4 separate regions of the Homo sapiens genome follow, and all the other regions are linked to region 2. The links are contacts of gene promoters, found by promoter capture Hi-C in blood cells and fetal thymus (Javierre and others, 2016). All regions are on one chromosome and are shown on one strand. The core of a region is centred on a gene start or on the middle of the fragment in contact, and the rest is flanking DNA. Distances in the headings are between cores, read along the strand shown.

Evidence for each region. Contacts are between HindIII fragments. The CHiCAGO score rates a contact against its expected background, and 5 or more counts as called.
Region 1: a fragment that was not itself captured here is called in contact with the fragment with the promoter of ING3 in region 2 in 1 of 17 cell types (naive CD8 T cells); the score reaches 5.1 in naive CD8 T cells.
Region 3: a fragment that was not itself captured here is called in contact with the fragment with the promoter of ING3 in region 2 in 1 of 17 cell types (total B cells); the score reaches 5.8 in total B cells.
Region 4: a fragment that was not itself captured here is called in contact with the fragment with the promoter of ING3 in region 2 in 1 of 17 cell types (naive CD8 T cells); the score reaches 6.7 in naive CD8 T cells.

Annotation. Positions count from the first base shown.
Region 1 is chr7:121,503,281-121,506,046 of GRCh38, reverse strand. All of the region lies in intron 1 of LOC124901737 (a long non-coding RNA gene), which reads left to right. It overlaps LOC105375478 (a long non-coding RNA gene), which reads left to right and starts at 888. Exons shown (of 3, transcript XR_927917.2): 1 at 888-983. RefSeq lists an enhancer at 1-985. The HindIII fragment of the contact is 9,018 bases long and covers 1-2,766 here.
Region 2 is chr7:120,949,261-120,952,085 of GRCh38, reverse strand. It overlaps ING3 (inhibitor of growth family member 3), which reads right to left and starts at 1,309. Exons shown (of 12, transcript NM_019071.3): 1 at 1,162-1,309; 2 at 851-922. The coding sequence starts at 1,189. RefSeq lists an enhancer at 687-766. The HindIII fragment of the contact is 9,487 bases long and covers 1-2,825 here.
Region 3 is chr7:121,559,784-121,562,855 of GRCh38, reverse strand. No RefSeq gene overlaps it. Among named protein-coding and RNA genes, the nearest start is that of FAM3C, 170 kb to the right of the region's middle. The HindIII fragment of the contact is 519 bases long and covers 996-1,514 here.
Region 4 is chr7:121,542,401-121,545,302 of GRCh38, reverse strand. No RefSeq gene overlaps it. Among named protein-coding and RNA genes, the nearest start is that of FAM3C, 150 kb to the right of the region's middle. RefSeq lists an enhancer at 1-1,000. The HindIII fragment of the contact is 7,032 bases long and covers 1-2,902 here.

The DNA of each region.
Region 1 (2,766 bases), core at 53-2,552, 550 kb before region 2:
GCAAACAACTAGCCTCCTGCTCTAGTTGTGCCCTGACATGCCCAGACATATCCAGACATGCCTTGTACTCTACCAGGCGGACCACTCCTACCCTTTCCTCCTCTTACAAAGCACATGTTTACCCTATTTAGAAAAATTTAAGTCTTAGCCAATTGGGATCAGTTTAGATTGTGCGGTCCAACCCTAGCCAATAAAAGAAGGCCACAGGGACAGGAACTGCATTGGGGATAAAAACTCCTTCTCTTCTTTGTTTGGTGTGCTCTTGCGATCGTGACTGACACAGGCAGCACCCTTCTGCAGAAGTAAATTGCCTTGCTGAGAAAACTTTTTGTCTGAGTGCTGGTTCTTCCTTGCGGCACCCAGCATTTGTTTCTAACACCTTCCTGCCATAATGCTTAAATGTTTTCAATTGCATGCTTTATGTCACATTTCTCCAAAAATTCAGTTAAAGAAGTTGCATGATTTCCAGCTTGTAGTATCCATAGCCTGTCTTCAAGTTCATATAAGAAATGAGCCTTTAAAAGTTAAAACAACTCCCTTGGCCCATTGGCTGGATAATGCAGTTCTGTTGGTGCTAAAAAGCAAATTTTCCACATTCAGAAGTCACCAGGAGAATGAGGGTAACAGTAGTAGTGCTTTAAAAGTTAAACTACTTTGCTTACAGCATCTCTCTACTGTTGGGAAACCAGGAGGCAACACAACTCCATGTTTTGCTTTCTGTGAGTGAACTGAGTAACAGATGTGCAGTGACCAATCACTGACAGGCTTTTAAAGAGGTGATGTGAAGGTTGCTGATCATGATTGGTTGCATCTGTTGTTTACATAGCGATTTGTGGACCAATATGCTAGCAGCAAAGTTTGTACTTCCTGAAACATGGTCATGGAAATTCCAAAGAATACCTCACTGGTTGTGTCATATACAAGAAAATTTTGAATTGTTTCCACAATTAAGACACTGACTCCTAATCAAGTGTGTTAACCATGTAAGTGATGTTAACAACCTGACATTGTTTGGTTTGAACAGCACCACAGTCTTAATTGTGAGAGTCGAATGGGCTGTAGCACCCCCAGAAGCCTATGTATAATACTTGGTAGGTTCTGAAAATGTGTGAAATTTGTATTTACAGAGAGAAAAGCAACTTATAAAGTGTAGGAGTAGAAAATATAAATTTAGGGAAATGATAAAAGAAGCAGAAAGAAGAAATGAGAGTAAAGGAGATATTCAGTCAAGTGTCTGAGTAAGAAACTAGAATTTGCCTGGACTGCATTCTTTAGCTAATTCAAGGAATTTATGGACACAGGAACCGGGAAGCAGAGAGTGAGTCATCAGATCCTGGCATCAGGAGACTGCCTGGTGGAACAGTTTTAGCCTAAAGGAGAAGGTTCTGCTAGATTTCCATTTAAAAGAACCTTGTTTGTAAGGACCGCATTTAGATAAACATCCAGCGGACCTGGGGGTTTGAAGCCAGGTGGAACTACAACCCCCGTGTTTCTACTGCCCAGGAGAGCAATCAGTATTGGCTCCATAGCTTGAGGCTATGAAGTGGGACATCCACACTGAAACCGAGAAAAGAAGTGGGGCCCTGAGTACCTGTGTTACCAGAAAGGGGTCCAGATCCACGTCTCAAGAGAGGGTTCTCATGCAAGAAAGAATTTGAGGTGAATCCATAAAATGAAAGCAAGTTTGTTAAGAAAGTAATGGAATAAAAGAATGGCTATTTCATAGGAGGGCTGCATGTTGCCCATTTTTATGGTTGTTTCTTGATTATATGCTAAGCCAGGGGTGGAATTTTTATGCATCCCCTTTTTAGACCATATAGGGTAAATTCCTTACATTGCTGTGGCGTTCGTAAACTGTTATGGTGCTGGTGGGAGTGTAGCAGTGAGGATGACCAGAGGTCACTTTTGTCGCCATCTTGGTTTTGGTGGGTTTTGGCCAGCTTCTTTACTGCAACCTGTTTTATCAGCAAGGTCTTTATAATCTGTGTTTTGTGCTGACCTCCTATCTCATCCTGTGACTTAGAATGCCTAGCCATCTGGGAATGCAGCTCAGTAGGTCTTGGCCTTCTTTTACCCAGCCCCTATTAAAGATGGAGTTGCTCTGGTTCAAAGGCCTCTACAGCTGGCAACTTTTTATCATGAGAAGAAGCAACATATTTTATTTTGTTTACAAAGGTGCACTCATAGCCACTTAGCTCTACTTAACTCCAGCCAGACACCCCCACCACCATCCACTGCTGCTCTCTCATCAAGATTTCTCCTTATCAGCACCGCTTGTAAGCACAGGTTTCTAGGCTCACATCAGGCACTGAGTTTGTCGGACTCTTACCTTCTCTCCATTCACATTCACCAACAAGAATCCTTGGGTCCCTGCACCAGGTTATCTATATTATACAGCTTTGCTTTCCAAGTTGGTGAAAGAAAGTCTTACTTCCTAGATCTAAGACCCGACATACCTGAATACTCATTTCTTTCTTTTTCCCTGGAGAGAACAGTGTTCATTATTGAAGCGGCTATGTTGCTGGTGTATATACGCCAGGGTTCATTATCGTGTGTCACAAAAATTTAGGACACAGACACACAGGAGTAGTTTAGGAACAGAGATTTAATAGGCAGAAGAGAAAAGAAAGAGAAACAGCTCTCTCTATAGAGAAAGGGATCTCTGAGTAGAAAGGACTGGGTGGTAGTGGCAAATGCACCAGATTATATAGTCCAGTTTGAGGAGGTGGTGTCTGATTTACACAGGGCTCACAGATTGGTTCAATC
Region 2 (2,825 bases), core at 60-2,559:
ACCACTTTTTATTATGTGCCACCTGAAACTTACCGGAAAAATATACTCATAAGCAAAGGGTATAGAAGTGGGTGTGTGGTCATGGGCAGAGAAGCCAGGAGCAGTGAAAAGGACAGGTTCTTAGCTGCAGCAGGTGGTCCCTGAGCCACCTATTTATAGTCGTTGCTCTATGAAAGAGCAAAGTTAATTTGGGGAAAAAGTCCTAGAGACTACCAAGCTATCACTGAAAGAAAAAGAAATGTTCATTAACTGCTAAAATTTTTAGTACAGCACATAAGAAACTTTACAGTGAAATCTAATTTCTGTCACTCATTTTAACCAAGAAAATGACGATTCTGTTACAATTTAAAATGTATCTAATGTGTAACTAAGTTTTCAAAATTTGACATTTGCCATGGTCTCTAAAGAGCTATATATAACCTCTGCTTCTGTGCTTTCCACTCTTGAAAAACTGTGAATAGGATGAACTTTAAAATAAGTATAAATGCTGAAATCTAAGTTCGATACGAAAAGGCTCAAGACGACATCTCAACATTTATTATGCTGACGTCCATTGAAACATAGATAACTATGTCAATGACGGTAGAGAAATATTTTTTGCACAATCCCACATTCTAGAAAGGAATACACGTGTCCCAATGCCTCCTGCTCTTGCAAAAGCCAGAAAAAAGTAGCATGGGAGGGAAGGGGAAGGCGAGATTCAGGGCTGCCAGTTCTTTTTGACAACTCCTTATGCACTAGCGGAGTGAGCCAGAGGACAGTGAAAGAGCACTAGGCGCTAGCAGTGATGACAAGCAAGTCTGGCACTGAACGCGCGCAGCGAACAGGAGTAGTAGACGCGCCGACTTACTCTGCACCTGCAGGTCCATCTCGCGCATTTCCGTGAAGCGGTCCCGCAGATCCATAGGAAGCTGCTCAATCACTGTCAAAGGGAGAGTCCGTCAGAGGGGCGGGGCCAACGGCGAAATACGCGCTTACGTCACTGCGCGCGTGCGTCAGGGGGGTCGAGGGGGCCGGCAGCCCACAACGAGGCTGCCAGTTACCGTGAGAAAGAAACATCCCCCGCCGCCCCCTCCCTCCCGCCATCTCGCTGCCCGTCCACTCGCGCTCTTGCCCGCCCGCACGTCCCACTGGCGGCCGCCGCCAGCGCCGCGCACTCACTTTCCAGATAGTCTTCTAGGTACAACATCGCGGCCCTTAGAGCTGAGGGAACAAGGGGGTCCAGGGGTTTATTTGTGTCACTCGCTGTCGCCGGAGTTTTGTCCCCTCCAATATGGCGCCTCCGCTAGCAGCACCCGCTCGACTCCGGCAAAAAAAAAAAAAGAAAAAAAAAAAAACCACTTTGGCGCCTGAGGCGCTTGCCTCACTGCCGCCCGGAGCTGCTATTGGTTGGTTCAAGCAATGACGTAGCCCGGCCGGTGTTCGCCCCCGTGCCTCTGTGGGAAATGTAGTTTTCTTCCTCCTCAGCGAGGGTTGGCGCGCTGGCGGCTCCCCTCGCAGAAACTACGAATACCGGGCGCCATTGCAAACAGTGCGTAACAGAATCCGAAATGCGGTGCCTCTGTTTATTTGTTGATTTTTGCACAGAGAATGGCGGGAGTTGTATGCACCTGCATAACACAACTAGGAACAACTTTTCACCTGTTCTTTGATGTGATTCCATGCCCCGGCGTTTGTGAGTTATGGGTTTCAAGAAGTGCCAGGCAAATAGCAAAGGTTCTAAACACTAGAATAATCAGCAAAGTTCGGGGAATTTGGATTGCTTAAAATAGAACTCTCTACTGGAATTTATCCTCATTATTCACTCTAAAATATAAAAGAGACACCTGGTTGGCTTACGTGTAATTTTAAAATAGTTTATACTGAGACTATGGAGTGAATATACATTTCCCAGATTAAAAGATGCACAAATAGTGTCAGTAGCCACTTATATATTCTAGTTTGCGGTCCATCTAATCGTCATTCTAATGTAATTGATCTATACATACAATCTGCATCCGCAAATAATAATAATAATAATCTTCATCATCACAGTGAGCAGCCATGAATTACGGATGCAGCCTTGATTTCTAATAGGCTGTTAATAGCAGTAACTTTATGTTGAGTAAATAGTCCATATTCGAGGTTGGTTGTCTTCGGCGTTCTTTAGTTTCTACTTTTCGACCTCTCCCAGCAAATGTTTTCCTGTGATATATTTAGTACGTCCCTACTCAGTTTCTTTTTAAATTGTTTTTTATTAAAAACTCTTGCACTCAATAAATGCTAGATATTGTTATTTTCCACTCTTCTTAACTTTTCGATTTTCTGGGGAAATTGTCATTAGTTCATAATTTATTGTTCATTTTCTGTTTTTCAAATTGCAGTTGAAACTGTGTGTGTGTGTTTCTTGCTTTCCTTCTCCATTACATACTCTTGTACTCAAGGTTTTCACTGCTCTTAAGCAGGAAACTTTCCTGTCGTGAATGATGAATCATGATGAATCTCAACGGAACCTTACTTCGATCCTAATAAGAATTAGAATTTTATAGTTTCTAGTTAAGTTTTTCATTACTTCCATCGAAAATCAAGTACTTTCGATCTTTTTCTCCCTTCTTTTTTTCCTCCTTTCTTCGTTTCCCATCCTTCCTTCTTCTGGCTGCTTTTAACATCTCTTTGACATCTTTTTGCAGTTTTGTAGTGATCTAAGTCTGAATTCCTTCCTTATTCCCTTTTCTTTCCTTAAAATTTTAAAATTATGCTTAGGATTTGAGGGGATTCCTGAATTTCAGGATTGGTGCCCTGCAACAATTCTAGAAAATTCTCAGCGTTTGTCTTTTCAGTATTGC
Region 3 (3,072 bases), core at 6-2,505, 610 kb before region 2:
TTATAAGCCTACGAGTACAGAAGGGCTTCTGAAACAGGAGGCCCAAAATCAAAACAATAACGTGAAAAGGTGGCATACTCAATTACATCAAAATTAAGGTTGAACAAGATTAGTAGAAAATATAGAGCCTAAACAAGTCAAAAGATTTTATTTCTATATGAATAGAAACTCAGGTAGATCATTTAGAAAAAGAAGGAAAACCAGAGAGACTGAAACCCACTGGTAATCAGATTAATGAAAACTGAAATGATGACATACCATTTTGTATTTCTCAGATTGGCAAAACATAGACTACAAAAACACCAAATGTTGAGAACTATGTGGATAAATGAGGAGCCACTGCATTGCTAAGGGTCACATACTCTGGCAACAATTTCAGGAATGGTAACAATTTCATGAATAGTAACCTGATAGTACTCAGAGAATTTATGATCCAAAAAGATCATTCCTGCATTTATATTGCAGAGAAACTCACATGTATGTCCATAAGGGTAGTGAGCAAGGATAATCATCATTTTGCTTGCATAGTCAAGAGTTTGAGGCAACAGTGGCGTCTATCTACAGGGCATCTTATAATAAAATGTGGTAGATACACACAATGGAATACTATGTAGCAACTAGAAACAATGAATGAGATATACATATACCAACATAAATAGATCTTAAAACACATGGAGTTAAAATATGCAAAAAATAGAATTCAGTCTATGGTACAAAGCCATCGATGCAAATAAAAAAGCAAACATGCACTTCAAGAACATACAAGTATATGATATATCAGACATGTGGAGAAGGGAAGTGGGACAGGGGATGAAGAGATGGGGAAAAGTAAAACAAAAAGAGCCAAGTAAGGACATATATTGGAAGTATGAGATAAACTGAGTAGTATACATTTAACTGAATTCCTTGCACATGAGGTTCAAAAACTCCATGTGGCTCTGAATTCTGGCAGAGTGCCAGGCTTTTGACAGACTCCTCATATGCATTTGAAAGCTTTATTTAATAGGAAACAATTATACGGTACTGTTTCAAAATTTAATCATTGGGCTCACTAATCAACACATACAAAGAGAATTAAGGTGTTGCCATGTTTTAATTGTATTTGAATTAAAACAAAAAACTTAACCCAGAATTTTATGAATTATTTTAGTACTAAATGTTAACATATATCATTAAAATACTAGAATTAGAGCTACCAGATAATTTATCACCCAAACTAGGACACTTTTGTGAATAAAAGTAGACACAAAAATAATGAAAATTGTATACTATTTGAGATACTTATTTACTGATTTATCATTTGATGCTATTTGTAGACATAAGTAATGATTCTATTCACATATCATTTTCAGGGACTTCTGCTTCTAGATTTGATAATTAATAGCAAACACATTTGATCTTTCACTTTAAGCAATTTTAAAATGGACAAAATATACAAAGCAGATTTCATACATTGGACAAAAGGCAGCTCAGGAAAGGGATCCCCTGAGAGAATAGAGCAAATGAAGTAAGCTTAGGATTGTTCTAGCTTACTCCCAAAAAAAGTGTCCAGGGAAGGGGGACCCAAACCACAGGCTGGCAGACTTGCTTAGTGGAAAGACAGAGTTGCCAATTCGGAGAGGCCAAGAAAATAGAATTTGCAGTGCAGAATACCAGAGAAGAGAAAGCTGTATGGAGCAGAGAGAGCTTTACAAAGAGAGAGCCCAGAAAAGTAGGAAGAGTTCCCCTCAAGTCTTCAGGTAAGTACCAATCAATACATGCACGTGAGAAAACTACCCAAAACTGGAGAGAAAAATATCAGAAATAATGAAACGCAACAATCCTCATAGCTCATGTAGAGTCTGAAATAGTGTTTTCCCAGTAGTCAGAGTGTAAACCTCTCTTAATTCATATGACAAAAAATGAGTCCTGGACTAAAGGCTGCTCAGGCTTTGCCTAGCAAATTTTAAAAGCAGGCTTCAAAAGGATTGTACTGTTTTCAAGTAACAAACTGAGCCTCAGAACAAGATTCAATAATATGAACAGGAGTGTATAAGTATCCAGCATCCAGCACGTTAAAATTCACATTGCATGGCATCCAAACAAAACTGACAGACATGAAAGGGAAATGTGACCCATATGGGGAAAATTAAATCAATAGAAACAGATCCAAAAATGAAACAAATATAGAATTAGTAGACAAGGTCATCAAGACCGTTATTACAACTAGATTCCATATGTTCAAGAAAATAAAGGAAATCATGAGAACATTAAAGAAGAGCATAAAGATGTAAAAAAAAAAAAGACCTGAATTAAACTTCTAGAGATGAAAATGTAATATCTGAGTGAAAAAATATATACTTGGATGGAATTAACAGCAGATCGAATACTGCTGATCAAAAATAGAAGCTGCATCCAAAAAAATTGCCATAAGTCAAGTTACTCCAAAATGAAGTAGAATTTCAAAATTTGTACACCATCTGGGGCCTTTTCATTGATTTTGTTCAGTTTATCCCTTGCTTTTATTTTATAGGACTAAATTTCCATGTCTTTCTGTTTGCAGGATTTGACTATAATTGCAATTATCTAAAAATGTCAAAGATTGTTGACACTTTGACATTAAAAATGTCAAGAGATTGTTGGTACTCCATTAAATAATTCATTTAAACATTTCCAACTGATTTTGAATAAAACGCAAAAAAAAGAGGACTCACTTTTCAAAGTTCAATACCACTATAAAATACTAAAGGAAATTTATTAGGTTAATAGGCAGCAAAGAAAAAAGCATGTGCCACCATAGTAACTTATTTTTTAACTTGTCACAAAAAAGTTTATACTTCAGTTACTCAGTTGTGTATATGTAAAAACACATAGATAAATTTCAGCAACCATAGGTTTTGATTAATACAATACAGATGTTTATTTAGATATAATGACAAGTTGAATGTGCATGACAATTCCAAGTATATTTGCTCCATAAATAATTTAATTATAGCATTGTGTTTACTATGGCCCTGTTTTCCATAAACATTTTATTCACGTTGTCTCATCAAAACATAAAACTTTTTCTTCAATATTGAACATTTAATTTAA
Region 4 (2,902 bases), core at 222-2,721, 590 kb before region 2:
CTACTAGGGAGGCTGAGGCAGGAGAATTGCTTGGACCTGGGAGGCAGAGGTTGCAGTGAGCTGAGATTATGCCACTGCACTCCAGCCTGAATGACAGAGTGAGACTCCATCTCCAAAAAAAAAAAAAAAAAAGGAATAATGGGACATTGGGTAGAGGCAAAGGGAAGGGGGAATTTATACCTGGCTTTGTCAGCAGGTTCAAACAAAGGTGAAAAGTGTGTGTTTGGCCTTGTCACAGGTAAACAAGAAAGCCATTTACAAGCCTGATGGGGGTCACAAGAAAGAATGGACAGTGAGTGCTATGTGAGTCACATGGAGAAGGGTGATTCATTTCCTTAAGCTGTTTTTCAGAACACAAAACGGTGAGGCATTTCTGAAAACAAAAAGTTGGTGAGATTTCTTAACCACAACTATTTTCTGAAAGCATGAGGCTCTGGAAAAGTTCAACATTGTTAGTCCTCTTTCCCTTTTGATCAAGACAGATAAATTTCATTCACTGTTGCACAAGTCAAAGGTGGCCATAAATCTCCTGAGTGAGGTGAACCAGGGTAAAAGAACTATGCTTGCGAGGACTCTTAATGACATGATGTCTTCAAAATTAATTAAATCACCCATCAAAAAATAAAATTACAATGTATTTAGTTTAAATTTATAATTGACTTTTATTTTCAATTCTAGAATCAGGGAACACCTCATTCTATAAAATAGAGTGAGTGTTCAAATGAACTGAATGGAGGAGGTTAGATTTATAGAATGAAAAGAGCCAAAGGAAACAAAAAGAGAGAATAAAAAACAGACTCATCCTTTCAACGTTACTTTCCTTATAGGGTTCAAACAGAGGAGGCATCCTTATTATGCTGACTCAGGTACTAGAATCTGCTGGGGGTTTTTTTTGGAAAACTGACCTGTTGGAAAGTTCAGTTTGATTATGTGGCACTTAGCCCAAGTAACTCCATTATAATTTGGTCTTGTCTGCTAGGGCCTAACACAGGAAACTAGTCCAAAATAATGGCCTCCCATAAACACATCTATTGAAAGGTAGAGGCAAAGCTCAGTTGTTTTAGAGTCCTAGAGATCAGGCATCTATATGAAAAATAAAAAAAATATATATATATAAAGCTGGATTAAAGTAAAGACCCAAGAGTTCAACCCTGAGAAAGTTTGGTCCAGTGGATTCCAGAGTCAGTGGATGAAAACCTTTTGATTATGTAGCACTGCTTATGGAGTTTCTTGAAGTTAAGAAGTTAATGTTCTTGGTGATGTTGTCCAGTCTTGGTTACTTCTCATGTAAGGTTATGCATGACCTGAGCATTTCAGTGAGCTTTCTTAGTGGCCTAGACAGTAACTTGCTCAGGGAGAAATTCAGTCCATTATGGTCTTCTGTGGTGATAAGTCCCTCAGGGTATATATCAAGTCATCAGGTTTTAGCCCCCAGTCCTTCTTCAGATCTGGAGGTGAAAGAACAGCTACAAGGCAACTTTGAGTCTCGATAAGGATCTCTAGATAGTCAGACTTTTGTTCTCAGTGAGACCAAGTTAAGAGGGAGGGAGAAAAGTTGGAAATGTTAGTTTGAAAGGTTATAGCCAGATATTGAAAAAAAAAATGAGAAGAATTGAAAACATGGTAAAAATTGACAATTTGTTCAAGGTAACAAAATCCAGTCTAATCACAAGTAGGTTACAAAACCAGTTATTGCACAGTGGGGAAGGAAGCCAATTAAATCTCAACCAAACAGAGTTAGCACATCCATCAGTTACCTACAATTTATAAAGAGGCACAAATAGTTCAAAGACGATTGAATTATTGTTTCAAATCTGATAACTCAAAAAGATCTGCTATAGTTTTCCACTGAAACAAAGTTTTCCTGAACAAAGATAGTCTTTAAAAAAAACAGGGCCAGGTGCAGTGGCTCACACCTGTAATCCCAGCACTTTGGGAGGCCAAGGCGGGAGGATCACGAGGTCAGGGGATCAAGACCATCCTGGCTAACATGGTGAAACCCCGTCTCTACTAAAAAAATACAAAAAAATTAGTCAGGCGTGGTGGCGGGCGCCTGTAGTCCCAGCTACTCAGGAGGCTGAGGCAGAAGAATGTCATGAACCCAGGAGGCTGAGCTTTCAGTGAGCCGAGATCGTGCCACTGCACTCCAGCCTGAGTGACAGTGAGACTCCATCTCAAAGAAAAAAAAAAAAAAAAGAGGAAAAGGAAAGAAGAGAAAAAAAGTGATTATTCTTGATCATAAAATAATGTGGTTTCATTCTTACTGGATTTAGCCTGATTATGTACAGAGGTACAGTAAGAATGGTAATTTACCATATATATCTTTTTAAGTTTGCTTTCCTGGAAGTTATCATTAGGAACTCTTGATTCAATTTCAACTTTTATTTATGTAGTTATTTAGGTTTTGTTTGTTTGTTTGTTTTTTGGGACAGAGTCTTGCTCTGTTGCCCAGGCCGGTGTGCAGTCACATGATCTCAGCTCACTGCAACCTCTGCCTCCTGGGTTCAAGCAATTCTCATGCCTCAACCTCCAGAGTAGCAGGAACTACAGGCACGTGCCACCACACCTAGCTAATTTCTGTATTTTCAGGAGAAACAGGGTTTCACCATGTTGGTCTAGCTGGTGTCGAACTCCTGACCTCAAGTGATCCGGCCACCTCAACCTCCCAAAGTGCTAGGATTACAGGCGTGAGCCACTATGCCCGGGCAATTTTAACTTTTAAATGCCCCTTGAGGCTAGTATGCCAAGCCAATAATTCATCATCAGATTTCACCTATATATTTAGATTAATTCCTTTCTTCTTGAGGTCCCTCAAATATTCTGAAATTCTTAGGATTACCAGGAAGTAGCCTTCCTTCCTCAGCTCTAAGGCTAAGAAGGAACAGTGTAGGCCCTGTAAGCC